Linked DNA regions of Homo sapiens: regions 1, 2, 3, 5, 6 and 7 are each linked to region 4. The links are contacts of gene promoters, found by promoter capture Hi-C in blood cells and fetal thymus (Javierre and others, 2016). All regions are on one chromosome and are shown on one strand. Each heading gives the region's core, a stretch centred on a gene start or on the middle of the fragment in contact. The rest is flanking DNA. Distances are from core to core; before and after follow the strand shown.

Region 1 (3,723 bases), core at 865-3,364, 440 kb before region 4:
AAGAGGGTCCTCCAAATCGTAACCTTCAGGCCCCATAAAACCAATATCCACCTCCAGAAATTCTTGTCACTGTTTTAAAAATGAGGAAACTGAGGCACAGAAAGAGAAAGTGATTTGCCCAAGGTCACTCAGCTAAGTGAAGCAGGATTTGAACCCAGCCAGTCTGACTCCAGAGTCTGCTTCAAGGGGACACTGTGAGAATTCAGTGAGATTTAAAAACATGAAAGGAACTTTATAAATTTAAGGATTAAGACTAATAATCAAATGAAAGAGGTGTGCCTGTTTGTCCACTGGTGCTCAGCTCCACAGAGGAAAGGGGCAGAAAAATCCTCCTACCGTATGCCAGAAACCACTTGGAATTTAACAACCAGGACCTCATTTTGTCCCCATGGCAGCCCTACAGCCAGGCATTATTGTCCCAGGGAGGCTTATCGAGGTTCAAGGATCAACCCAAGTCACATAACCAAAAAGTGATGGATTCTGGAGCAGATGCCAGGGCTAGTGATGCCAGAGCCTCTCTCTCCCCATCCAGGGCACCAGGCTGCCCAACAGCATGCAGCAGAAGGCTTGCCACACTGGACTGGCCAAGGTCCAGGAACATGACACAACCAAGGGCCTCTCCACCTTCTCTCATCCCCTGTGCTCCACCATCTGAGAAAGATGCCCGGGACAGAGGAGCCACGTGGCAGCAGAGCAACACTTCTGCCCAGATCACAAGTGGGCAACGTCTGCAAAGCAGGCAGCAGCAAGGTGGGGGCAGCTAGCCACAAGCTCTGAGAATCTCAGGCTCTGGCTGTGCAATTGGGCCAGTGGGTCCAGGGAAACAAACAAGGACTTTGGAGTCAGGCAAGATCTGGGCTTTGTCTTCCTGGTGGGATGACCTTGGGCAAGTCACTTTAGCTTTTTTAGTCTCATAAAGTAAGAATCTAGCCTTAGGAAGAGGCTGCCAATATTAGAGTGGGAAGTGCCTGACACATAATAAGTGCTTAGAGAATGGCAACCATATATATACATATATATATATATATATGTATGTATGTATGTGTATATATATATACACATATACATATAAATATACATATACATATACATATACATATACATATACATATATATTTTTTTGAGACAGGATCTTGCTCTGTTGCCCAGGCTGGAGAGCAGTGGCATGATCTCAGCTCACTGTAACCTCTGCCTCCCAGTTTCGAGTGATTCTTTTGCCTTAGCCTCTAGAGTAGCTGGGACTACAGGCACATGCCACCATGCCCGGCTAATTTTTGTATTTTTAGTAGAGACGGGATTTTGCCATGTTGGCCAGGCTGGTCTTGAACTCCTGACCTCAAATGATCCCCCTTCCTCAGCCTCCCAAAGTGCTGGGATTACAGGCATGAGCCACCGTGCCCGGCTGGCAACTATCTTTTATTATAATTCTGTGAGTTCTTCTCAGCAGACCTGGCCTTTCAGGAGTGGTAGGAATCAGGCTGGGGATAAGGATTCTGAAGGACCTTATTCCTGCAGGGGGCCCAGAACTGGAATCAGAGGAGGAGGCCTCCTAGATTGGACAGTGGGCAAAGTCCTCCCAGCCCCCAGGGTCCTGGCTCCCTTCCCTGTAGCCTGCTTCTGGCTGACAACAGAAGCAGGGCCCCAAGGTTAGGCAAACAAGCTAGTGATAAGGCACTTCCAGGTTGGGCCTTGCATTCAAGGCCCACCCAGCTCTGGGGCTGGCTTCCTGGCTTAGCAAAAGCCCTAGTCTTTTGTGCACACAAGAGCGGGCACCAATGGGGACACCTGCTGATTGTGCACCTGGGGCCTTGGTGCCCTGGTACAGCCTGAGTTAATGACCTTGTTTATCCACTTGAGTCATCTGATAAGGGGCAGCTGAGTGAGCGGCAGGTGGCCCTGTGCCCTGCACCGGCCACTTCATTGACTGAGGTGATATCAGTGCCACGTGGGGTTCCCAATGCCCCCTCCCCCACCACTTCCCCACCATTCCTGCCAGGGGCAATGTCTGTGTGTTTTTTTCAATGAACATGACTTCTGGAGTCAAGGTTGTTGGGCCATTCCCCCCGTTCCACTCACTGGGAATATAAATAGCACCCACAGCGCAGAACACAGAGCCAGAGAGCTGGAAGTGAGAGCAGATCCCTAACCATGAGCACCAGCCAACCAGGGGCCTGCCCATGCCAGGGAGCTGCAAGCCGCCCCGCCATTCTCTACGCACTTCTGAGCTCCAGCCTCAAGGCTGTCCCCCGACCCCGTAGCCGCTGCCTATGTAGGCAGCACCGGCCCGTCCAGCTATGTGCACCTCATCGCACCTGCCGGGAGGCCTTGGATGTTCTGGCCAAGACAGTGGCCTTCCTCAGGAACCTGCCATCCTTCTGGCAGCTGCCTCCCCAGGACCAGCGGCGGCTGCTGCAGGGTTGCTGGGGCCCCCTCTTCCTGCTTGGGTTGGCCCAAGATGCTGTGACCTTTGAGGTGGCTGAGGCCCCGGTGCCCAGCATACTCAAGAAGATTCTGCTGGAGGAGCCCAGCAGCAGTGGAGGCAGTGGCCAACTGCCAGACAGACCCCAGCCCTCCCTGGCTGCGGTGCAGTGGCTTCAATGCTGTCTGGAGTCCTTCTGGAGCCTGGAGCTTAGCCCCAAGGAATATGCCTGCCTGAAAGGGACCATCCTCTTCAACCCCGGTGAGCTCCCAGACACTCCTGGGTGGGGGGCAAGGCTGAAGCAGGGGCCAGCCAGGGAAGGTAGCTTCTAAGGGTTTGATATCTGTTATCTCATTGGGTCCTCATTTTCTTTTTATTTTTCTGAGACAGAGTCTCACTCTGTCACCCAGTCTGGAGTGCAGTGGTGCGATCTTGGCTCACTGCAACCTCTGCCTCCTGGGTTCAAGCAATTTTCTCTGCCTCAGCCTCCCGAGTAGCTGGGATTACAGATGGCCGCCACCACTCCCGGCTAATTTTTGTACTTTTTAGTAGAGATGGGCTTTCACCATGTTGATCAAGCTGGTCTTGAACTCCTAACCCCTCAGGTGATCCACCCACCTTGGCCTCCCAAAGTGCTGGGATTACAGGCGTGAGCCACCGTGCTTGGCCAGTCCTCATTTTCATCAAATAGCCATCTCACAGAAGAGGCACAGAGAAGCTAAGTGACTAGCTAAAGGTAACACAGCCAGGTAGGGACAGACCAGGATGGCAACTCAGGTCTATTCACTCCAGAGACTGGCCCTTGCCACTCTGCCTGAGAAATTTGCTCTGACCTTTACAGAAGGCTGTGGGGAGGTGGGGTGGGCAGACACAGCTGTGTCTCAGTCACATCCTCAAAGGAAGGCTGCATGGTGAAGCTCTAGAGCTAAAACTCCTCTGTGGGTTCAGAAAGATCACATAGAAGAGATGACTGAAAGGGGCGTAGGGAGGACAGGAAAGGAGTCTTTATGGAATTCGGCCAGGAGAGCGGCAGATGGAGACAGTGCTGTTTGTAATCTGGAGAGCATCTGAGATGAGAGTTCCCCAGGAGTCCCTTGTGGCACGCATAAATCGTAGTAATTAATTGTAATAATAGTAGCAAATACTCATATCACACTTACCATATGTTAGGCCCTATTCTAAGGGTTTTACATATACTAGTTCATTTAAATCTCATAAAAGCCTAGGAGACAGGTCCTATTAATATTATTATTCCCGTTTTACAGATAAAGAAACTGAAGCCCAGAGATTAAGTGACTTGCCCA
Region 2 (3,299 bases), core at 283-2,782, 360 kb before region 4:
TTTGCACCTGTTCGCCAAGAAAAGTCTTAGGGACATTCAGCGCCCTACAAGATTGATTCCACCCCATCCTTCCAACTGGAATATCTCTAATATCCCTAACTATCTGAAGTGCTCCTCATATTCTAGCCAACGTGGCCTGCTCAGTGGCCCGTTCCCATCCCTCCTCCTTCCCTCTGCCACTCTCTCTTCCCTCAGCTTTGTCTGCCTGAAGGGCTGCCTCCGCACAGCTCCTGTGCTTGAATTCCACCCAAACTTAAAGACTTAGCTCAAGCATCACTTCTCCAGGAAGCTTCTCCAGTCCCCCAGGCAGAAGATGCTCCTGACTCCTCTGACCCTCTTCTAAAGCCTGATCTCACTGGCAGTGGCTGGTCAGGGCTCCCACCTGGGGCCAACTTGTCTGGAACCCATGAGAGTAAGCTCCTATCAGATTCATTGTTGGCCCCCACCTGCCTTCACTCTGCTGTCAGGGGTCAGCATATAGAATTAACACACAAATGAACAAACCCATGATGCCCAACTGGGAGATGTCCTGACTGTTTCCTCACCTGTCACCCTGACAGAGCAAGGAGGGCCTTCACAGAAGCTCACCTATTCTTCAGTCATTCATTTACTCATTTAGCCAACGTCACTGAGCCTTCTACATGGCGACAAGGTGAACAAGATGCTGGAATTCCATGCCCTCACAGGCCAGCAGAAAGGATGATTTTGTAATGACCACCGTTGCAGCACAGGTTCAGAGAAGGAAGGAGAAGGTGCTCTGGGAATGTGCAATGGAAGGCCTGGCCCAACTGGGGTCAAGAAGGCTTCCCAGAGCACAGGAAACAAGTGGAGAAGAGGATGAAGGAGATGTGTCCCTGCTGCCATCTCAGAAGAGAAAGCAAGGGGTTTGGGAGTGAAAGGCACACACTCTGTCTCTGCTTCTTTATCCTGGCCCTGTGATCACCTGCCTCCGTTTCTCCATCAGTACAATTGGTTAACAGGGTCGCCCTCACTGGGCTGTTGTGAAGATTTGTGGGGATAATAGATGGAAAGCACTCAGCACACGGCCAAGCTCTTTCCAAGAAGGGGATTACTGCTGTCACTGTGATCCACGCAGCTCACAGGAGGCCGAGGATTCCAGGCAGCCAGACCTCTGGGTCCGGCTGAGCTGGACAATAATCCTGCCTCATGATTAGCCCTGACCAGAAGGGGAGGAAGAACGGGGCACAGCTGGGCCTCCCCAGCTGCCAGGTGGGCCAGCCCAGGTCAGACCGTGGGATCCTGAAGGAGTGGCCAGGGACCCAGAGTTTGAAGGGGTAGGACGCTGGATGTAGGTGAGAGGAGGTGGCCCTCGCAGGCGTGGCTGAGGATGGGGCTGGGCAGAGGAATGAGACAAAGAGCAGACAGAGCCCAGAGAACATCCTCTCCAGCTGCTCGCCCTCCCTCCCTCCCTGCTGCACAGAGTATTAGTGAAATGATTTCTAGCGATGGATGCAGCAGGGCTCTGACATTTACAGGCCACTAGATGTCTTCAGGGCCAGCTGGGTGTTTAAAAGCCTGTGTGAACACCATGCTGTTAGGGGAAGGAGCTAACCACGGACCGGAAACCCCCGAGGTGTGCAAGTAGCCACGTCACTTCTCAGCAGGAAGAGCTGGGGTGCAGCAAGCTGAGATTAGGGACCTGGCCCAGTACCCCGCCACCCCGGAACCCACACAGCAGTCTGAAAGGAATCAAGGGCCACCTGGGCTGCCTGGGAGCACAGGGTCTTTCCAGCCACTGCCGTTCCTCACACACGCCCAGGCTGTTTGCCACTCTGGGCTTTGGCCTTACTTTTCCCAGATCCCCGTATTTCTACCACACTCATCTCCAGTGCCGCCTCCTCCTAGAGGTCTCCCCTGACCACCTGACCTAAACTAGCCCACTCCCCAACACCTACTGGGCTCTTCCCTAGATAACCCCACCGTCAAGCCCTCATCTGTTCAGGCCGGTGCTTCTTTGCTCAGATGTCACCTCCTTCACAAGATGTTCCCTGGCCACCCTATGTAAAATCACACACCCTCCCTGTAGCCTTCATCCTCCTTCCCTCCTTTCTTCTCTGTCTGATATCCTAGATATTTAATTATTTGTTATTTATTGTCTCTTTCCTCCTCCTCAACTGTCAAGCTCCATGAGGACAGGGACTATTGTCAGTTTTGTTCACTGCTGTATCACATCTAGAAAAGTGCCTGGCACATAGTAGGGGGTCAATAAATGTTTGATGAGTGAATGAATAAGTGTATATGAATGTTTAAGAGCAGGTGCTCTAGACTGAGGTCTCATCTCAGCTCTTCTACTTACTTTGTGATCTTGGACCCTCTTTTGCCTTGATTTAATTAATCAGTAAAAGGAGAATGACAACAGTACCTACCTCATAGGATTACTGGGGGATTAAATAAGATCATGCATATAAAGAGCTTAAAACAGTGCCTAGCCCCCAGGAACTACTCAGCTCCACGCTGGCTGCCATCGGGGCCTTTGCTGGCTGGCCAGCATTTCTTGCTTACTTATTTGCTCACTTGTTGATCATCTGTCTCCCTCTGTGCCAGTGTCAGCTCCAGCCTGCCTTGCTCACGACTGCATCCCCAGTTCCTAGTATAGTTTTGGAAGAGAAAACCAGGCCTCCTCCCAAGTCAGGGAATGTGGAGCTATGGAGACCCAGCTTCAGCTGGGAGTAGAAACCTCACCGATCTGTTTCTCCAGGGCGGCTGCTTCACAGACAGTGGCCCGGGGCAGGATCCCAGGGTCGGTGAAGCTTGTCTGCAGCAGGCAGCTCATGACGAAGAAGAAGAGGATGGCAGCGATGATGGGGATGGCAAGGGTCAGCTTGCGAGCCAGGTAGGGACAGCTAGAACGAGAGATGGAGAGAGATCAGCAGACACCCCAAGGGCTCCCTGCGGCACAGGGCTACAGCACGTGGCAGGCGCTGTCATTCCAACAACCACCACCAAAATCTTGAATACAGCCTCGCTCTGAGGCAGAGGCACAGCTCCTTGATGAGTGCAGCCACTCCCCAATAAGTACCGGGAACAGACATCACTAATTGATCCTTGTGATATACTTTCCTCCAGAGCACATGGCAGATGTGTCCAATAGATCCCAGCACTCCTAACCTCTGCATCCAGAGAATCCCTCTACACACAGAGCTTCAGGCAGACACTAGTGGACTGTCACCTGAGACAAACCATCCTGCAGTGTTCATTCACTCATTCATTCACTCACTCAGTCCACAAATATTTACTGAGGTCTTCTCTGTGGCAGGCAACACCTTCAATAAGCAGCA
Region 3 (3,514 bases), core at 887-3,386, 310 kb before region 4:
GGGAAAGCCATTTTTATTTTATTTTTTTTCCCCAAACTCACTGTAAACAACAGTAACTTTGGTTAAAATAAAAAAAGTCTTCTATGTAGGCAGAGCTTTGTCTTTTCAAAGAGGGTGGGGTAGGGTCCTGAGGGGAGTAAGGTGAGGACAAGGAACAGAAAGGCGTGAGGTGATGGAGGGAGGGGAGGTGGAAGGAGGAGAGAGAAACAGGAGAGACTTTTTCCCAAGGGAGAAGCTGGACAGCACAGGGTAAACTGGATTCTGAGGTGGTTTTGCATAAATAAAGGGCAACAGTCAGTTTCTAAGTTCTCCACACACGCACACACACACGGGGGGGGGAGGTGTCCCACGGCTGTCATGACTGGCCAATCAAAAACAGTACATCACAAATGACTTGTGAAACCAATGAGTTCATCAACGGTGATACCGAGATGTCCAACAGCCGTGATTCGTACAGAGTAAACTCTGAGTGGTTCTCGTCCACCTTGGCCAAGGCAAGCAGCGCGCGGGCAGCCCGCCGCATCATGTCCACACTAGTTGGCTCAAAGGGTGGGTTCTGCATGTGGAGGAGGCTGGCCTGGCTCTGCTGGAACTGTGTGGCGGCAAGGCTGTCCTCTAGGAAGCCCAGGAGGTTGCCGATACTGCCCTTCTGCACTGCAATGGCACGAGCTGCCAGGCTGTCCCCCTGAGCCAGGTTGGCCAGCAGTACCACAGCCATCTCCCGGCACACCGGGTTCTTTCGGTCACTGAGGAAGCGCACCATAGTGCTATACAACTTCTCCAGGCGGCTGAAGGGGGGTGTGGCCAGAATCAGGTCCACATTGTTGTCCTGGATGCTGAGTTTGCTGAGGGTTTCCAAGACCAGTCTCTGCGGGGAAAGGACGGCATTGGGGCCCAGGGTGGAAAAGGGGTCCTGGGCTTCAGCTGAAGGGCAAACTGCCCAGTGTAGGAGTCCGTCCAGGACAGGCAGGCAAATGCTCTCGGGGTATGGAGATAGGTCCAACTGCCCCGAGATGTTGGCGAGTGTAACCAAGGTGTTTTCCCGGAGCATCTCCAAGCAGTCCCACCACCACTCCACTTTGTTGCAGCTCACCCCTTGGTCCTGTTCCTCCTCCTTTTCATAAGTTAGTGGTGCCTGCTTCCGTTCTGGGTGCTTGTGGTGCAGCAGGATCAGCTTGCCCAGGATGAGCAGCAGCCCTGGGTGTTTGGACATCTCAAAGTCATTGCCTGGCACAAATGACAGGCTTCGAATGGTATTGGACACACAGACGCAGCGCTTGGCAAGAGAATCCTGCCAGTCCAGAAGGGTACACAGTGGGGTCTCATCCTTACTGTGGGGTTCGTCCTCTAGGATCTTGATGTTCCGGTGGCTCTGTGCTGGGCTAATGCCAAATGGAAACTTGCTGCTCTCCTTGATGGCCTCTGAACTCTTAGCTCCATCCTCGGTCAAGGTGCTAGACCGAGTAGACAACATGTCATCCATAGTGGCTGTGATCCGTTTTTCTGGAGGTCCATCAGGTGGGGGCCCCTCCTGGTCTGTTGTCCCTGGTGTACCCTCTGCTGTTGTCACATGCTTCCGAGGGGCTGGTGGGCAGGGTGCGTGAGGCCGGGAAGGCAGCAGCTCTGTCTTGCTCTCGAAGTGGGTCTGGATATGCTCAGTGGTGTCCCCCCCACCAATCCGCCAGTGCAGCAGGCCACTGTCAAACTCCTGCACACGCCCAAGCTTATCTGAGCAGTCCACCACAAATGGATCATTCTTCTGTACGATCTTTACTGGAAGCTTGTCAAACTTACTGATCAGCTTCTCCTCACTATTCTCTGAAGCTGGCTTGTCCTTGCCTGAAAAGGCTATCTCCTCATCATTTTCAACTACTTCCTCTTCTTCTTCCTCTTCTAGTTTAGGACCTAGAAGTTCTTCTTCTTCTTCCCCACCCTCCATGGGAGCTGGACTAGACACCTTGCTGAACCTCCCAGGATCCAGTAGCGTTCTCTGTCCTGGGTCACCCACCTCATACTCCTTTAAAATGCCAAAGATCTCAATCAGGCATCGTCGGAAATATTCTACAAGGAGCTCTAGCAACCCTGGGAGCTAAAAAGAGAAAGAACAGGAAATAAATTAAGGGAGAAAAGTGGCCTAAGAACAGAATTATTGACTTGAGAGACCTCCCCAAGTCTTCTGTATCAGTTGGGAGAGGCAGAGTTGCTCCTTTCCCAAAGGTTCTCCACAGAGCAAATTGTTCATCTTAATCTCTTCTATGCCCAACACAAAGTTCTTTCTTCTGCCCAACCTACCTTCACGTAAGCCTATCTCCAGGAACACTAGCCAACAGCTTTGCACCTCACCCACCAGGGCCAATCATCTCTTAGCCTTCTCTTTTCCCAATTAATCTTCTGCTTTTCTTCACCAGGCCAGTTTTCAACCTGGTGGTCATTGCCATTATCTCTTTTAGGACACTCTCTCCATCTCACTGCCAAGTGGAACCCAAGCTTAGGCATGGTGACTTAAGCTAAGAGAAGAGAATGCCATGTGGGCAGATGTTCATGGCTCTCTTCTCCAAGCTCCCCACAAGTCCAGGGGGCTGGAACTCCATGGATCTTGCAGCATAAGGAGTGGGACGAGGCTTCAGCTCTCCAAACACTGGTCCAAGCTGGTGCTACAGAGACCCAAATTCCACCTTGGATAATATATAGGCCATTTATTTACCTCTAGAAGAAAACACTCCTCTCCAGTCACAATCTTTGGCTGAACAGTAGAGCAGATGGAAAAAAAAATAAGGGCTTTCGAATTAGATCTAGGGGCTGGAAGCAGTGGCTCACACCTGTAATCCCAACACTTTTTTTTTTTTTTGAGATGAAGTCTCACTCTGTCATCCAGGCTGGAGTACAGTGGTGTGATCTCAGTTGGCTGCAGCCTCCGCCTCCTGGGTTCAAGCGATTTTTCTCCTGCCTTAGCCTCCCAAGTAGCTGGGATTACAGGCGCCTGCCACCACATCGGGCTAGTGTGTGAGAGTGTGTGTGTGTGTATTTTTTTTTTTTTTTTTTTGAGACAGAGTCCCGCTCTGTTGCCCAGGCTGGAGTGCAGTGGCACGATCTCAGCTCACTGCAACCTCTGCCTCCTGGGTTCAAAGTGATTCTTCTGCCTCTGCCTCCCAAGTAGCTGGGATTAGAGGTGTGTGCCACCAGGCCCGGCTAATTTTTATATTTTTGGTGGAGATGGAGTTTCACCATATTGGCCAGGATGGTCTTGAACTCCTAACCTCAAGTGATCCACCCACCTTGGCCTCCCAAAGTGCTAGGATTACTGGCGTGAGCCACTGCGCCCAGCCTAATTTTTATAGTTTTAGTAGAGATGGAGTTTCACCATGTTGGCCAGCTGGCCTCAAACTCCTGACCTCAAATGATCCTCCTGCCTCGGCCTCCTGAAGTGCTGGGATTACAGGCGTGAGCCACTGCACCCAGCCAGTAATCCCAACACTTTGGAAGGTTGAAGTGGGAGAATCACTTGAGCCTAGGA
Region 4 (3,634 bases), core at 750-3,249:
TGATCAAAACTAGGCTAAATTATCTGTAATTTGCTATAATCTTTAGTACTTAGAATTTCCTAAGTAACAGAAGAATAAATTAGTTTAAACCCTGGGGTATTTAATATTTAAATGCAGATTTTCCTATAAACTAACAACAGAATTCTTGATCAGGAAACCAACGTTATGAATGACACGGACGAGGTAAGCTATCCACACAGTTTATAACCTCCATTAATGGAGGCACCATTATGCTAATTAAGTTAAGGCACTAAGGACAGTCCTCATTCTGTGAAAATGATCAGTTCCAATGTTAGCACTTACCTTTGCAGGGGCCTTTTTAGGCTTGGGCTCTGGCTTTGGAGGAGCAGGTTTCTTTTTTTGGCAGGAAGAGAGGAAAAAGTGAACATCAGTACAATGGACTGAAGAAAACCACCCACAACCAACCAAAAGTACCAAGGGTAGAGAAGTTTCTCCTCCTCCTCAAAAGTTTTTGTGGTTGGCTTTCTTCTAGAATGTTGGATTTCCAGAAGCCCACTCAAATGTCCCACTTTGGCTACAGGCATCAGAATTTCAGAACCAGCAAAACCCAAAGGGGCAAGAGTCCCAAGTAGAGGCAATGATTCAAAACCAGGCACTAACCATAATTCATGGAAGCAAAGGGAATTGTTTTTTGATGTTTTTTAGTTTCAGGGACAAGCACGAAAATTCAAAAGCATACACTTACAGCAGACAACCTCGCGGATCTTCTCTGTGGCTATTAAAGACAACGAGAAAGTTAGAAATAGGACAGGTAAGTCGCTTTGAAAGTTTGGTATCAATTTGCTCTAGATTATAGGAGTGTAAATTCAGGACACAGGTTACGGTTAATCACCGAGTCCAGTGGCCTCTGCTAGTCCAAGGCTTTGACCCTTGAAGAGAGAATGACTTACTTCGTCCTTCACCTTTGCTTTATCTCCCTTAGCATCCCCTTCAGCCTATAAGAAACAAGAACAAAAAACTGCAGATTTTGAGGTGGTTCTTAATTACTTCCCAAACTTTAGAGTGCTAAAAATGAAAATTAAAGCAGTCGTCCACACAACTTTTCTAGGACATAAATGAGTGAGCCCGACGTTCGTATAAGAACGAAGCGCGCGCAGGAGCTCCGGCTCGCCGACCCCGAGAAGCGAGGGCTGGACCGGAGCGCAGCCGGGGAGGGCAGCGGAGCCCGCACCACCGCGACAGGCAGGAGCAACAGCTGCAGATGGCGCAAACAAACCCCCTCCGGAGGCGGAGCCCAGCGCCGTTGCTATGGCAGCCGTCGAGGGCGGGAGAGGGAGGCGCGCGCAGCCCGGGGAACTCGTGGGCGGCGACAGCGCGCGTCTCGTGCGCGGGGAACGTGGGCGAGGGGGCGGGGCCATACCGCACAAGCCCCGCCCCTCACGGCGGCGGTTTTTTGGCGGCAGCGCTTTCCCCCGCCCGCCAACCCCGAGCGCCGCCTTCCCGCCCTTTCGGGTTTGAATTGCCCGCCCGCAGGGAGGGGAGGGAAGGGGCCCTCGCGATGGGGGAGGGGGCACGGGGCGGGGGCGGCGAGCCCGAGGAGAGCGGGATAAACAGCCGCCAACATGGCTCCTCCCGCCGCGGCCGCCGCTCCTCCAATATGGCCTCTGGCGCCCGCGGGCAGCCGAGCCGCTCAGGGTTAGCCCCGAGCTGCCCGACACCGTCTCCAGCCCCCGCGCGGGGAGGCTGCGCTGGCTCCTGCTCGGCGCCGATTCTCGCTCCCTGCACCAGGGAGGCGGCGGCGGCGGTGGCGGCAGTGGTGGCCCGGCGCCTGGGGCCCTCGCGCCACGTACCTTTCTCTTGGGCATGGTGGCGGCGGCGACGGCAGCGGGACGTAGGTGCTGGACGCGGGATGCAGCGGCGCGCGGGCTTTGGTCGGTCCGGGGGTCGTTCTCGCCTCTTCTTCACACTGCTCGGGCTCCGGGGGGTTTATAAAGTTTTTATAGCGCTGGGAGCCCCGGACCGGTTAGAACCGGATTTCACCTCCCGCCGCCGTTCATTGGCCCAGCTGGGGTCACGTGGGCGGGGTTTAAACTCACCTCCTCTGGAGGGAGTGAGGAGGGGGGTGTGTGGGGGGGGTAGTGCGCGGAGACGGCGGCGCGCCGAGGGGGTGGGGGCGCAGTCGGGGTGGCGCGCGTCGAAGGCAGTAAATGAGGAGGGGTGCGCGAGTCGGCGGGCTCCGGGTTCCGGCTCCCGCCAAGAGCTGTCTTTTGCAAACTAGCAAGTTCCTTCCACCTTATGCAACCCAGCAACCCACTTCTCCAAGCCGTGCGACACTCACGGCGCATCTCAGCGGCTTTCCTTCCTGCTCCCGCTGGGGGCCCCAGAAGAGGGGTTTGCGAGGCCTGGCTGCACTGCCCTGCTCCTCTGGAAGCAGGAGGAAGCGCGCGGCTGGAGGCACAGGCTGCAGTTCCCAGAGCCCAGGCTGACGCCAAAGTGGGAAAAAGGCGGGGAAACCAGCTTGGCGCAGCCGGACGTGCATCCTTCCGAGCTGCCACTTCGGAGAAGCCTTTCGTGCACCTCACCTGAAAGACGGTCCCACTCGAGGTGGGCTAGGGGTTTCAGGGGGAGACTTTCCATGCAGAGGTGCCTTTTGGGTGCCGTGGGTCAGGTAGGAGCTGTCCTTTCAGCACCCGTTGCGCAGCCGCCTCCCCAAATGCTATCGAAGCCCCCACCCCCAACTCCTCTCGGGTGGCTCCCTTAAGGTCCCTGTATTCCCAAACCTCCAGACCCCGCCACAGTATGGTGGAGAGCGGCCGTCGAGGTCTACCAGCACTCACTTCCCCCTACACTCTACCCCTCTCGGAGACATTTTGCCCAGCTGCCCAACCCGACGCGGCCACCAAGCCTGGGCACTGCAGCCGCAGCTGGCGAAATCCCTCCTTCCACACTGTCAAGCTGGCTGCCTTTCACTTGCGCGAGGAAAGGAGGGTGGAGGAAAGCGCCCGGGGATTAGGAAACAAGTAGAGGAACAGGTGGTGTGATGGCAAAAGGGCTCTTCCGGTGCCCCCTAGTCCAAAGCCAGGGTCTTGGAGCTAGCCAAGTGCACCTGAGGGAGGGTAGGCAATTGCAGCAGCAAAAGAAGGTGTTCTTCCGTTGCAGTTAGCAAACAAGTTTTACATCTAAGAATCTTTAAAAATTCTATTTGAGACCCAGCACACAAGAATACGATAGATGTCCTCAAATGGGGGCTTGGCTCACAGGTGGAAGGACACTAAATTGGTCCCATCTGATTTCTTGAGGCAAGGGTTGAACCTGGCTTGCACAAATCACACCTGTCCAAAGCAACCACGAGTTCTACTATTTTGCAGCCCTTGCTGCTGGGCGACGACGACGACCTCTCTGCCTCTTCTTTCCACCACTACATCGCCTCCTGGGGCAGCTTCTCCCTACTCCACCCTGTGTACCTTTCCCAGAATACAGAACCTCAGGCCAAAGAGAGATGCCAGCCCCATTAATCACCTCTACTGTACCCCAATCATATTACGGAAAGTCAGACCCAGGAGACAGGACTCAACAGCCACGCTCATAGGGCAGATTCCGTTTGCTGCCTCCAGCCCCTCATTCCCGCCTTAATTGTAGGGCTCTGCATTATAGCCGCATAATTCATGCCTCC
Region 5 (3,835 bases), core at 1,005-3,504, 490 kb before region 4:
AATCCTTGGCTTCCCAAAGTGCTGGGATTATAGGCATGAGCCACCATGCCTAGCCCCCCAGGTATTCATTATTCTGAACTTTGTGTTTCTCATTCCCTTGCTCTTTTCTTTCTTTTCTTTTTTGAGATAGGGTCTTGCTATGTTGCCCAGGCTGGTCTTGAACTCCTTGGCTCAAGAGATTCTCTTGCCTCAGCCTCCCAAGTAGCTGGGATTACAGGCCCAGGCTATTGCACCCAACGCCTTGCTCTTTTCTTAGTTTTTTTTCACGTAAAAATTAGGCTGAAGCACATGAATCTGCCATTACTTTTAGATCAAAACAGGTCAAATAACAGCAAATTCATATGGTTCAACCAAATATTATGCTTAGATGCAGTAGTTCTAGTTATTTTTGAATCATATATAAAGGATGTCATTCCATATGTAGTCTTCTGAGATTTGCCTTTTTTCAATCCAATATTATATTACCATGATCCAACCATGTTGCTATTTTTCATTCATTTTCTACTGCTCTATAATTAATTCCTTTGCATGAATATCCCACATTTCTCTATCTCCTGTCAGTAGCATTTCCGTGTTTTCGGTTTGGGGCTACCACAAACAATGTTTCTAGTAACATTCTTGTATACATTCTCTCCTGGTGCATTGCACAAGAGCTTACTGTGGCTGTACCATAGGAATGGACTTGCTAGGTTTTAGAGTACACAGATGTTCAACTGCACAAGATGTGACTGTGAAGTGAGGATGTGACTCATTCTCTGAGCTCCAAATAAGAATACAATGTGCACTTTCCTCAGGAGGGAATGTGGACAAGATGTGGTGGGAGGCGCTGGGATGGAGGGTCTCTGGTGGAAATTGAACACCTATGCCTAATGCATCCCAGTGATATCTTCCTGTTGCATCCATGATCTCTTTTAATCCTCCCAGTTAAAGAGAGGTACTACTATCTCCAGAGATTAGGTTTAGAGAAGGAAAGTGCCTTGCCAAAAGTCAGTTTGTGCCAACTGCCTGAGCAAACAATGTCCCCTCTCTAAGCTTCAGTTTCCTCTTACTGTAAAATGGATATGATAATACCTGACCCACTTCACAGATTAACGGCTTCGGCATGCATGGCTCCTGGAGATGCTCCCTAAAAGTCACTTGTTTGTTTGTTTGTTTTGTTTATTTGAGACAGAGTCTCGCTCTGTCGCCCAGGCTGGAGTGCAATGGCGCGATCTCGGCTCACTGCAACCTCTGCCTGCTGGGTTCAAGCCATTCTCCTGCCTCAGCCTCCCGAGTAGCTGGGATTACAGGCACTTGCTACCATGCTAGGCTAATTTTTTGTATTTTTAGTAGAGACTGGGTTTCACTATGTTGGCCAGGCTGGTCTCAAACTCCCACCTCGCGATCCTCCCGCCTCGGCCTCCCAAAGTGCTGGGATTACAGGCATGAGCCACTGCGCCCGGCCAAGTCACTTGTTTATTAATGCTATTGTTAAGTTATTGAGTTGTTATTAATATTAAGGGGAACAGTAACCCAGAATAGTCTGAGCCTTGCCTTATTGACATTCAATGGTGTTGCCTCTTGCAGAGACCTTTTTTGGATGTAGTGACCATGGCCCATTTTGGCCACCACTTCTGATCCTGGATGTATCTTTCAGAGCTGCATATCCGGTCCCCCTCCTCTACCCTACTCGGGGCCTCAGAGCTGAGGTTCCTGTCTTTACCTGCAGATTTCTCTGAACAAAAGAAAAGGTAAACTGATCAGCGGCCCAGGCTCCCAGTTCTGCCTCAGGGCAAAGGGAGAAATTGGGGCCCAGGGCCTCATTCAGTGGAAAATATTTGTTGAACACCTAGTATGTGCCAGGACCTGTGCTGAGCACCAGGAACACAGGGGAACAAGACCAAACCCTGCAAGGTAGGAGGCTAAAGGAGGAGACAGAAGACAACAAAACGACAGTGTGCTGAGTACAGGGACTGTTCTAACCAACAGAAAAACAGACAGGATCAGGGAAAGCTTCCCAGAAGAGAGCTTCCCTTTGAGTTGGAGCTTTACGGCCGGGCAGAAGTTCCACAGGTGCTCAGAGACTGACAGGACCACCAGCCTGTTGAACAGAAGAGGAGACTGAGCCCCAGCGCCTCTCGACCCCTCCCCGCCACACCTCACCTACCCGGACTAGGCTGAACGGGCCGAGCACTCGAGCGGGGACGCGCAGCTCTGCAGAGCCCCGGGGCGGGGCCTCGGTCCAGGTGCGCGGTAGCGCTTCGCGGAGGCAGGAAGTGTGTCCCTAGCGGCGGCCCGTGCAGCGCTCCCGCGAGACGCTCACCTGCGCCCCAGGTGAGCGGCGAGGGGGCGGGGGAGGGGCTGAGCCGGAGGCGGCTCACCTGGCGGGACAGGTAAGCCCGGCGCGGGCCCAGGGGGGCGCAAGCCAGGGCGGCGCCGGTGTCGGGAGCCCCCCGAAGCTGAGCCCGGACAGGAGAGGGTCCCGGGCCCGGTTCCTCGGGGGCCACCCTCCTACTTCCGGGGTGCGCGGGCCGGGCTGGGGAGCGGCCTGAGCGGGCGCCCGGGCTGGGCGCGCAGAATGGGGTGAGGGGCCGCGTTCGCCCTTAGGGCTGCACTGGCTGGGTGCGGGGGCCGCACTCACCGGGGGGCAGCGTCGGGATGGGACAAACGCTGGTGCTCACCCCGAGGAACAGCGTCGGGACGGGAGGGAGGCTGGGTCCGCCCGCGGGGTAGGGCCCTTGCAGCTGGAGAGGGTAGTGCTCGCCCCGAGGGCAGAGTTGGTGTAGGGGCTGTGGTAGCCCGGGGGACAGTGCCAGGATCTGGTTCTTCCTTGTCCCCAGGACTAGCTGCCCGCGGATATGGGACTCTCGGGCTGCACCTTTGGGGCAGGAGGCCGAGGGTGCACTGAGCCGACGGCTGTTTCTCGAGCAGGACTGGGGTGGTCCTCCCCGGCCGGGTGTCCGAGGCTTGGCACTGGGCTGGGGGCAGAGGCTGGTGCGGCCGGGCCTGTCCTGGGGACCCTCGGAGGAGGGGACGGTACATAGACCCTTGAGTGTGTGTGTGTGTTCGCGGGACTAAGGGGGAAGAGGAAAGCATCAACGAGAAATCCAGGGAGGGCGGGCCGGGACCCTCTGACCCCCGGGAACATCCTTGCGGTGCCTTAGATCGCCTAGTGACCTAGCCCCTCCCATGGGCAAGGCCACTGCGGGAAGCCCCCTGCACTCAATATTTCATTTAAATCTCACGGGATTGGCGGGGCATGAAGATACTAGTCTCTCCTTATTTAAAGATGAGGAAAGTGAGGTTAAGAATCTTGCCTCAAGCCACAATAGGGACAGGGAGTCTCCCCTCACTAAACCAAGTGACCAGGTTCCTAGGATTGGGCGGGGTGGTGGCGGGGCGGTGGCAGCAGGGTCGGGGAGATACAGCCTGGAAGAAACTGCCTGAGTTTGACTTCAGGAGGGTTCAATGGCTGGAGGGAAGTGGGGAACTGAGGCAGGCATTGTCCTTATCCCAGGTCTTCTCTTCTCATCCCACCACCGCTGGAGATGTGTGGCACACACAAAGTACGCAGGCTTCAGAGCCTGGCGGGCCACAGTGCAAATCTTACTCCAGCCCTCTCTTGCTAGGTGTCTCTGGGCCAGTCACTTCACCTTTCTGAGCTTCAGATTCCTGATCTGTGAAATGGAGATATACTACTTATTTTCAGAGCAATTGTGAGAGTCAAATAAGGTGAAAGTCCTCTGGCCCATTCACTGCTGTTTTCTCAGCATTTAGCACAACGCTGGGCACCTCGTTGTATTAATTTAATCAATAATAGAGAGTCCTAAAGCTTTGGAGGTTGGGGAGAAGACAA
Region 6 (3,817 bases), core at 303-2,802, 320 kb before region 4:
ACAAATAAACATAGCTACAGACTAATTACATTAATTACTATTAAAATAATGGGCCAATTAATACTAGAAACTCTATGGGGTCTAATTTTAGCCGAGGGCCTGGACTCTAAACTCTGTGATATTGATTTGGGGATTGGGAACCTGAGGTGGTTCCCTTATCCCATGGGATGGCAAAGCAGAGGGAAATGGGCAGAAGACCCATTGCTTGAACATTCTCTCTCCTATTGGAGTTCAGACACAAGTTTCCAAATGGCCTCCCTCAGCTAACCTGGAAACTTTAAGCTTTGCTGGCACACATTCTACGATTTAATCTAGCTAAAAACACGGAATGCTACTTTCTATTTCCTCTGTGTCTCTTATCCATACAGCTTGGAGAATTTTAGAAACAGCCAATGTGCAACTCCAACAGGAAGAAACTGCTAAGAGGTCGGCATGGGGAAAAAAGATGTCCCCAGGGTGGGGCCACAGCCAAGAACAGAAAATCAGATATAAGATCAAACCTTTCCCATCCCTCTCTATCACCACCGCCACCACCCAAAACATTGGTTAAGGTTATCTCCTCTGGAAATTGGGGGCCTGCCTGAGTTGAGAACCTCCTGAAGTCAACAGTCAAGAAACCAATATGGATATAACTATAACTGTGTATTAGGGAAAAAGATCCCAGAGATATCCTCCGTGCTTATTCCTGTATCTCAGTCCAATCAGGTCCTTTCACAACCCTCGTGTTTTTGCATATGCCCTTCCTTTTACCTAGAATGTTCCTCCTCTGCTTCTTATATGGAAAATCTCATTCTTCAGGACCCAGCTGAAATATGATGCCTTTCTCAAGTACTCCAGTGAGTTACCTACTTCTTCGCCTCCATAATACTTTATCTGAGCTTTAAAAAAAAAAATCTTGCTGGGCGCAGTGGCTCGTGCCTATAATCCCAACACTTTGGGAGGCCAAGGCGGGTGGATCACGAGGTCAGGAGATCCAGACCATCCTGGCTCACACGGTGAAATCCCGTCTCTACTAAAAATACAAAAAATTAGCCAGGCATGGTGGCAGGTGCCTGTAGTCCCAGCTACTCGGGAGGCTGAGGCAGGAGAATGGCGTGAACCTGGGAGGTGGAGCTTGCAGTGAGCTGAGATCATGCCACTGCATTCCAGCCTGGGTGACAGAGCAAGACTCCGTCTCAAAAAAAAAAAAAAAAAAAAAATCTCAGGCCGAGCGTGGTAGCTCACGCCTGTAATCCCAGCACTTTAGGAGGATGAGGCGGGCAGATCACTTGAGGTCAGGATTTCGAGACCAGCCTGGCCAACGTGGTGAAACCCCATCTCTACTAAAAATACAAAAATTAGCTAGGCGGTGGTGGCAGGCGCCTGGAATTCCAGCTACTCGGGAGATTGAGGCAGAAGAGTCGCTTGAACCCAGGAGACACAGGTTGCAGTGAGCTGAGATCGCACCACTGCACTCCAGCCTGGGCAACAGAGCGAGACTCCATCTAAAAAAATAAATAAATAAATAAATAAATAAAGTAAAATAAAATAAATCTCAAAATAGCACTCCCTTTTCTATCCCACTGTACTATAATTTATGTCAAATGTCTGTCCTCCTATTTATACCATGAGACCCCCCAAGGCAGTAATTTTTTTTTTTTTTTTTTTTTTTTTTGAGATAGAGTCTCACTCTGTCGCCCAGGCTGGAGTGCAGTGGTGCAATGTCAGCTCACTGCAACCTCCACCTCCCGGGTTCAAGCAATTTTCTGCCTCAGCCTTCTGAGTAGCTGGGATTACAGGTGCCTGCCACCACGCCCGGCTAATTTTTGTATTTTCAGTAGAGACAAGGTTTCAACATCTTGGCCACGCTGGTCTTGAACCCCTGACCTTGTGATCCACCCACCTCAGCCTCCCAAATTGCTGGGATTATGGGTGTGAGCCACCGCGCCTGGCCGCAATTTTGTCTTATTTATGTTTCATCCTTAGAGGTCTGACCCAGAGTCTGGCATAAAGAATAACCCTAAATAGTCATTGAATGAATAAATTCAGTATGGATCACTCAAACGGGAGATGTTAGCTGCCTTCCCTGTCCTTGGCCAAGGGGTTTTGCCTGTATTCACATCCTTATCCCAGTCAGGAATCCACCTCACCTGAACATGCATGCACAGACCTCCAAACAGCAGCAGCACTGCAGCGTGGACCACGTACACAAACACCTGAGGACTGAGGAATCCAAGATCGGGCTTCTCTAGGGTCTTATTGTTCTTGCTCCTTTGCAGCCCAAGTGTAAGGCAGAGCCAAGGGTGAGTGGTCACGTATGTCCAAGTTGCCCAGGCAACCAGTATAGCCACTGGTGCAGCCAGTAGAAAATTGGGCACCTGCTTGAGCTCATAGTATTTCAAAAAGCCAACATTCCAGTAGACATCCTGGATATAGCTGTATATTAGTGGAACATCCCAGAAGCACCAAGGCGGTTCATTTCCCTCTGCAATCCGGTAGCCCTTGTCTACAGCTAACTGTACCAAAGGCTCAGGAATGGGGCGGGCTGAGCCTGGCAGACAGAATTGGGTGTAGGCATAATACTGAAAGAGGGCAAAGGGAAGGCCAAGTGTGAACACCGACAGAAACAGAGAGGCCATCAGCTTAAAGAGCTGTCTCAGAGGATTCAGCATCGTTAGAGAAGAGAAAAAGCCTTGGCATTGAGAATGCATGAGGAAGCCAACACTGACCAGCCCGTTGGAGCGTACCCCAGTGGCAAAGGCAAAGAGGAGTACACTAGTCCAGACTCGGCCCCTCTCCAGCTGCCCCATGGCACTGAATGTCAGGAGGGCAAACAAAGCTTCTGAGTAACCAGCTGCCAGGAAGACATTGGCAGGGCTGAGACAGAAAAGCAGAGCTGCATAAAAGGACTGGTGGGGACAGTGCAAAACCAGACAACCCAGGTCATGAAGTGCAACTGCAGCCAACATGAAGAACAAGAAATTGAGTGATGCTACCGAAATCAGCAGGCAACTGCGTAGACTCAGTAACCCCCGTAAGGGTCTCAACAGTTCAGTCCCCACCAGCAGGGCCAAGGGGAAACCAGGAAAGAAGGCAAAGTTGTGCTCATACAGGTAGCCATGCTCAGCAATGAACAAGAAGTGTTCAGCATCCCAGTGAGACAGGCCGCCCAGAAGACCTTCCACGAGTTGGTCCACAAAGCCTGAGGGGGCCAGGCGAGGAGGAGAGAAGGCTTCTGCATGGTGATCTGGGATGATGGCATTGAAGAGGGCCTGTGGAGTAAAGAAAAACCAGAATTTTGGTTGAGTAACTGGAAGAAAAGAATTGCCATTTAATAAAATGAGGAAGAAGGCCAGGCTCATGCCTGTAATCCCCACTTTGGCAGGCTGAGATGGGAGGATTACTTGAACCCAGGAGTCCATGACCAGCCTGGGCAACATAGCAAGACCTTGTCTCTATAAAAACTAAAAAAAAAAGTCTGAGCACAGTGGCTCACGCCTGTTATCCCGGCACTTTGGGAGGCTGAGGTGGAAGGATCACTTGAGCCGAGGAGTTTAAGACCAGCCTGGGCAACGTAGCAAGACCTTGTCTCTACTAGAAATAAAAAAATAAAAATTAGCTGGGTGTGGTGGCACATGCCTGTAGTCCCAGCTACTTGGGGGGGCTGAGATGGGAGGATTGCTTGAGCCCAGGAGGTTGAGGCTGCAGTGAGACATGATTGTGCCACTGTATTCCAGCCTGGGTGACAGCATGAGACCCTGTTTCAAAAACACTTAGAACTCTTCTTGAGGACTGAACCCTGGACATGTTAACATCTGAAGGCTAGAAAGAGGATGAA
Region 7 (3,686 bases), core at 557-3,056, 420 kb before region 4:
GGCAGATCATTTGAGGTCAGGAGTTAGAGACCAGCCTGGCCAACATGGTGAAATCCCCGTCTCTACTAAAAATACAAAAATTAGCCGGGCGCAGTGGCTCATGCCTGTAATCCTAGCACTTTGGGAGGCTGAGGCGGGTGGATCACGAGGTCAGGAGTTTCAGACCAGCCTGATCAAGATGGTGAAACCCTGTGTCTACTAAAAATACAAAAAATTAGCTGGGCACGGTAGTGGGTGCCTGTAATCCCAGCTACTCAGGAGGCTGAGGCAGGAAAATCGCTTGAACCCAGGAGGCAGAGGTTGCAGTGAGCCAAGATGGCGCCACTGCACTCTAGCCTGGGTGACAGAGCAAGACTCTGTCACAAAAAAAAAAAATTAGCTGGGCATGGTGGCATGCGCCTGTAGTCCCAGCTACTCTGGAGGCTGAGGCAGGAGAATCGCTTGAACCCAGGAGGTGGAGGTTGCAGTGAGCCGAGATCACGCCATTACAATCCAGCCTGGGTGACATAGTGAGACCCCATCTCAGAAATAAATAAATAAATAAAGTAAATCTGACTTTTTTTTTTTTTTTAAAGAGTAAGCCCTAAGGCTTAACAAGATCATTCATACCCTTTGTTGGAGGAGTTTGGACTTGATGGTTACTATTAGGAAGTCTGTAGTGACAGAATGAAAATTTTATATGAGGCCCCTTCTTGCTGGCACTGTCAATGGATAGATAAGAGGGCTGGAGAACAAAGACCCAGATTTAAAGCCTCTGTCTTTGGACAAACCAGATATGTAGTAACTACTTCCCCGTCCTCTCCCAACCCCTTTAACTGGAGTTTGAGAGCAGCCTTCTCACTGAGAGCCCGTTTTTATCCAGGTACCATGGAGAGAAGCTACAGCCATTTGGGCAACTGAAGAGGCCCCGTAGAAATGGCTTGGGGCTCATCTCCACCATCTATGATGAGCCTCTACCCCAAGACCAGACGGAGTCACTGCTCCGCCGCCAGCCACCCACCAGCATGAAGTTTCGGACAGACATGGCCTTTGTGAGGGGTTCCAGTTGTGCTTCAGACAGCCCCTCATTGCCTGACTGACCGGGTTGGGGGCTTCCTTTCATAGCTACATGATGAAAACCCTCTGCCCTGGCCTCATCTACCACTGAAGCAGAAAGGAGTCTGGGAGCAGCAGTCTTCGTGGCTGGTTCAGGGTGTTTTGTTCCGAGCCTGCCTGCCTGCCGGTTCTATACCTCAGGGGCATTTTTACAAAAAGCCCCCTCCCGTCCCCTCCCCTTGGATATTAGGGGTAACGACCGCTTGTCTTTGGTCTCTAACCCTAATCTCTGGGCTTGCCCTTTGCCTCCTGCAGAACTTTGAAAAGCTGGGTTGAGTGAGGCTATCAGCACAGCCTTCCTTGGGGACTCTGAAGGTGTCCCCACGAAGGCCAGAAAGGGGGAAAGGGACCTGGGCGAGGAGAGGATTTGTGGTGCTTGGAAGAGCCGGCCTTGGGTGGGCCCTCCACCGCCTCTACCCTCACTGGGTGGGACTGCCAGCGGAGAGTCCGCGGGAGGTGGCTTGGGTGTGCGACGTCACGGAAGAATAAAGACGTTTACTACTGGAGCTCCCTTACTTTTCTAATTCGAGTCTGAAGGTTAGAGAAATTCCGAGAGCGATTTTCCCGCAAAGACCCCACATTCGACCCACTACCCGCGAGAGAAATGCGGCTGCGCCGCCCGCCCCTCGGCGTCTAGCTTCGTCCCCGCCGTGAGGGCGGGACTTCCTCTCGTTGGCTCGCCGTTTCCGACGCTGTCCGGAAGTCGAGTTAGTCTAGTTAGTATCGGCCTGTTATCTCCTTTTGCGCGACACGGTCTCAGCTGTTCCGCCTGAGGCGAGTGACGCTGGCCGCCAACGAGGTATACGTACTGGGACCCTCGCCCTCAGTCTCGTCTCCGGCGCGGCTACCTGCCCCGTTTTCCCTGTGAGTTGACCTGCTCCGGGCCGCGGGCCGCCAATGGCAGGGGCCGCTCCGACCACGGCCTTCGGGCAGGCGGTGATCGGCCCGCCGGGCTCAGGGAAGACCACGTACTGCCTGGGCATGAGTGAGTTCCTGCGCGCGCTGGGCCGGCGCGTGGCGGTGGTGAACCTGGACCCGGCCAACGAGGGGCTGCCGTACGAGTGTGCCGTGGACGTGGGCGAGCTGGTGGGGCTGGGCGACGTGATGGACGCGCTGCGCCTGGGGCCCAACGGCGGCCTGCTCTACTGCATGGAGTACCTGGAAGCCAACCTGGACTGGCTGCGTGCCAAGCTCGACCCCCTCCGCGGCCACTACTTCCTCTTCGACTGCCCAGGCCAGGTGGAGCTCTGCACGCATCACGGCGCCTTGCGCAGCATCTTCTCCCAAATGGCGCAGTGGGACCTCAGGGTGCGTCTCAGGGCGGGGAGGCCCATTTTGCGGATGGAGTAACTGAGACAGGGAGGACAGACGCCACGCCCCCATGTCACACAGGGAGGTAGGGGCTGGGTCGCTTTGGAGTAAAACAGGCATGAGTTCAGAATCTGGCTCTGCTACTGACTGGCTGTGTGGTGTTGATAAGTCAGTTCATCACTCTGAACCTCAGTTTCCTCACGTGTAAAATGTGTTAGTAGCCAACTTGGCGATTTTGGAAGTATGGAAGGGGTTAATGTCGAAAGTGGCATGGAGATTGTTGTAAATTGGTGGGCAAAAGTAAATGAAAGAGTGGAGTCAGATGCCATGGGATTTAAACCCCTTGCCCACTGGGAGGCTCAGTGCAAGACCTCTTGTAAGAAAAAAAAAATGACTCCTATTTCCTGGGAGAAGGAAACCAGGGTGGTTATTAGAAAGAAACAGAGGCAGGAGACTAATGGGGAAAGCTTCCCCTCTGTCCTCAAGCCCTCATTCTCATGAGGGAATGCTGATCCCTGTTTCTCCAGGCCACTCTCACCCTGTCTATTCCCTCCCAGCTGACTGCCGTCCACCTCGTGGATTCTCACTACTGCACAGACCCTGCCAAGTTCATTTCAGTACTGTGTACCTCCCTGGCCACCATGCTGCACGTGGAACTGCCCCACATCAACCTCCTTTCCAAGATGGACCTCATTGAGCATTATGGGAAGCTGGGTAAGAGCTTCTGTTCCAGGCGAAGAGCAGGGCAGCAGCTGGGCTAGAATGAAGCAGACATCTCAGCTGAAGGTAGCTGCCTCTGGTGCCTTGCGTGGTCTGGTGATAGTAGCCACAGGCAGGTTCTAACTCCTGCCCATTTATTTTGTGCCACTCTGTGCTAGTTACCGTTGTAGATTTTGGAGACAAGAGAGCTACAGATGGTGTTAGGTGTTACAAAGGAATTAAAGTGATACGACAGTGAATATTTGGGAGTGAAGTGAGTGAGCTTTGGAGTAAAACAGGCATGAGTTTAAATTCTGGATCTGCCACTGAATCATCGTGTGGTCTGGGTAAGTCAGTTCATCTCTCTGGACCTCAGTTTCTCACTTCTGCTCTGAAGCAGTGGCATCTGAGCTGAGACATGAATGGTGAGAAGGAGCCAGCCAAGGGAGGACTGTTCTATGCAGAGGCACTAGTAGGAATAAAGGCCTTGTCTTAGTCAGTTTGTGCTGCCATCACAAAAATACCATAGACCAGATGGCTTAGCCAATAAATATTTATTTCTCACAGTTCTGGAGGCTGGT

What was found. Contacts are between HindIII fragments. The CHiCAGO score rates a contact against its expected background, and 5 or more counts as called.
Region 1: a contact is called between the fragment with the promoter of NR0B2 here and the fragment with the promoter of HMGN2 in region 4, in 1 of 17 cell types (neutrophils). The highest score is 5.9, in neutrophils.
Region 2: a contact is called between a fragment that was not itself captured here and the fragment with the promoter of HMGN2 in region 4, in 1 of 17 cell types (neutrophils). The highest score is 6.4, in neutrophils.
Region 3: a fragment that was not itself captured here is called in contact with the fragment with the promoter of HMGN2 in region 4 in 1 of 17 cell types (fetal thymus); the score reaches 5.0 in fetal thymus.
Region 5: a contact is called between the fragment with the promoter of KDF1 here and the fragment with the promoter of HMGN2 in region 4, in 6 of 17 cell types (total CD4 T cells, activated CD4 T cells, naive CD8 T cells and 3 more). The highest score is 6.2, in total CD4 T cells.
Region 6: a fragment that was not itself captured here is called in contact with the fragment with the promoter of HMGN2 in region 4 in 3 of 17 cell types (naive B cells, total B cells and neutrophils); the score reaches 6.7 in naive B cells.
Region 7: the fragment with the promoter of GPN2 here is called in contact with the fragment with the promoter of HMGN2 in region 4 in 6 of 17 cell types (neutrophils, naive CD8 T cells, fetal thymus and 3 more); the score reaches 7.1 in neutrophils.

The regions. Positions count from the first base shown.
Region 1 is chr1:26,912,366-26,916,088 of GRCh38, reverse strand. NR0B2 (nuclear receptor subfamily 0 group B member 2) reads left to right here and starts at 2,114. Exons shown (of 2, transcript NM_021969.3): 1 at 2,114-2,680. The coding sequence starts at 2,149. It also overlaps a transcript of NUDC not described here. RefSeq lists an enhancer at 147-647. The HindIII fragment of the contact is 26,571 bases long and covers 1-3,723 here.
Region 2 is chr1:26,832,012-26,835,310 of GRCh38, reverse strand. It overlaps ZDHHC18 (zDHHC palmitoyltransferase 18), which reads right to left. Exons shown (of 8, transcript NM_032283.3): 2 at 2,704-2,864. Among named protein-coding and RNA genes, the nearest start is that of ZDHHC18, 7.0 kb to the right of the region's middle. RefSeq lists an enhancer at 1,483-1,582. The HindIII fragment of the contact is 2,482 bases long and covers 292-2,773 here.
Region 3 is chr1:26,777,598-26,781,111 of GRCh38, reverse strand. ARID1A (AT-rich interaction domain 1A) reads right to left here. Exons shown (of 20, transcript NM_006015.6): 20 at 1-2,089. The coding sequence ends at 356. Among named protein-coding and RNA genes, the nearest start is that of PIGV, 8.6 kb to the left of the region's middle. The HindIII fragment of the contact is 707 bases long and covers 1,783-2,489 here.
Region 4 is chr1:26,470,805-26,474,438 of GRCh38, reverse strand. HMGN2 (high mobility group nucleosomal binding domain 2) reads right to left here and starts at 1,999. Exons shown (of 6, transcript NM_005517.4): 1 at 1,812-1,999; 2 at 912-956; 3 at 707-736; 4 at 304-354. The coding sequence starts at 1,826. DHDDS (dehydrodolichyl diphosphate synthase subunit) reads right to left here. Exons shown (of 9, transcript NM_205861.3): 9 at 3,133-3,634. RefSeq lists silencers at 1,275-1,444, 1,485-1,774, 2,035-2,304, 2,189-2,604 and enhancers at 1,974-2,683, 2,684-3,392. The HindIII fragment of the contact is 7,205 bases long and covers 1-3,634 here.
Region 5 is chr1:26,958,887-26,962,721 of GRCh38, reverse strand. It overlaps KDF1 (keratinocyte differentiation factor 1), which reads left to right and starts at 2,254. Exons shown (of 4, transcript NM_152365.3): 1 at 2,254-2,372. RefSeq lists a silencer at 970-1,264 and an enhancer at 2,134-2,816. The HindIII fragment of the contact is 1,819 bases long and covers 1,995-3,813 here.
Region 6 is chr1:26,793,547-26,797,363 of GRCh38, reverse strand. It overlaps PIGV (phosphatidylinositol glycan anchor biosynthesis class V), which reads right to left. Exons shown (of 4, transcript NM_017837.4): 3 at 2,130-3,251. Among named protein-coding and RNA genes, the nearest start is that of PIGV, 7.5 kb to the right of the region's middle. The HindIII fragment of the contact is 2,536 bases long and covers 285-2,820 here.
Region 7 is chr1:26,888,403-26,892,088 of GRCh38, reverse strand. It overlaps GPN2 (GPN-loop GTPase 2), which reads left to right and starts at 1,806. Exons shown (of 5, transcript NM_018066.4): 1 at 1,806-2,403; 2 at 2,964-3,120. The coding sequence starts at 1,993. GPATCH3 (G-patch domain containing 3) reads left to right here. Exons shown (of 7, transcript NM_022078.3): 7 at 863-1,601. The coding sequence ends at 1,079. RefSeq lists enhancers at 1,463-1,732, 2,243-2,412, 1,768-2,645. The HindIII fragment of the contact is 6,723 bases long and covers 1-2,875 here.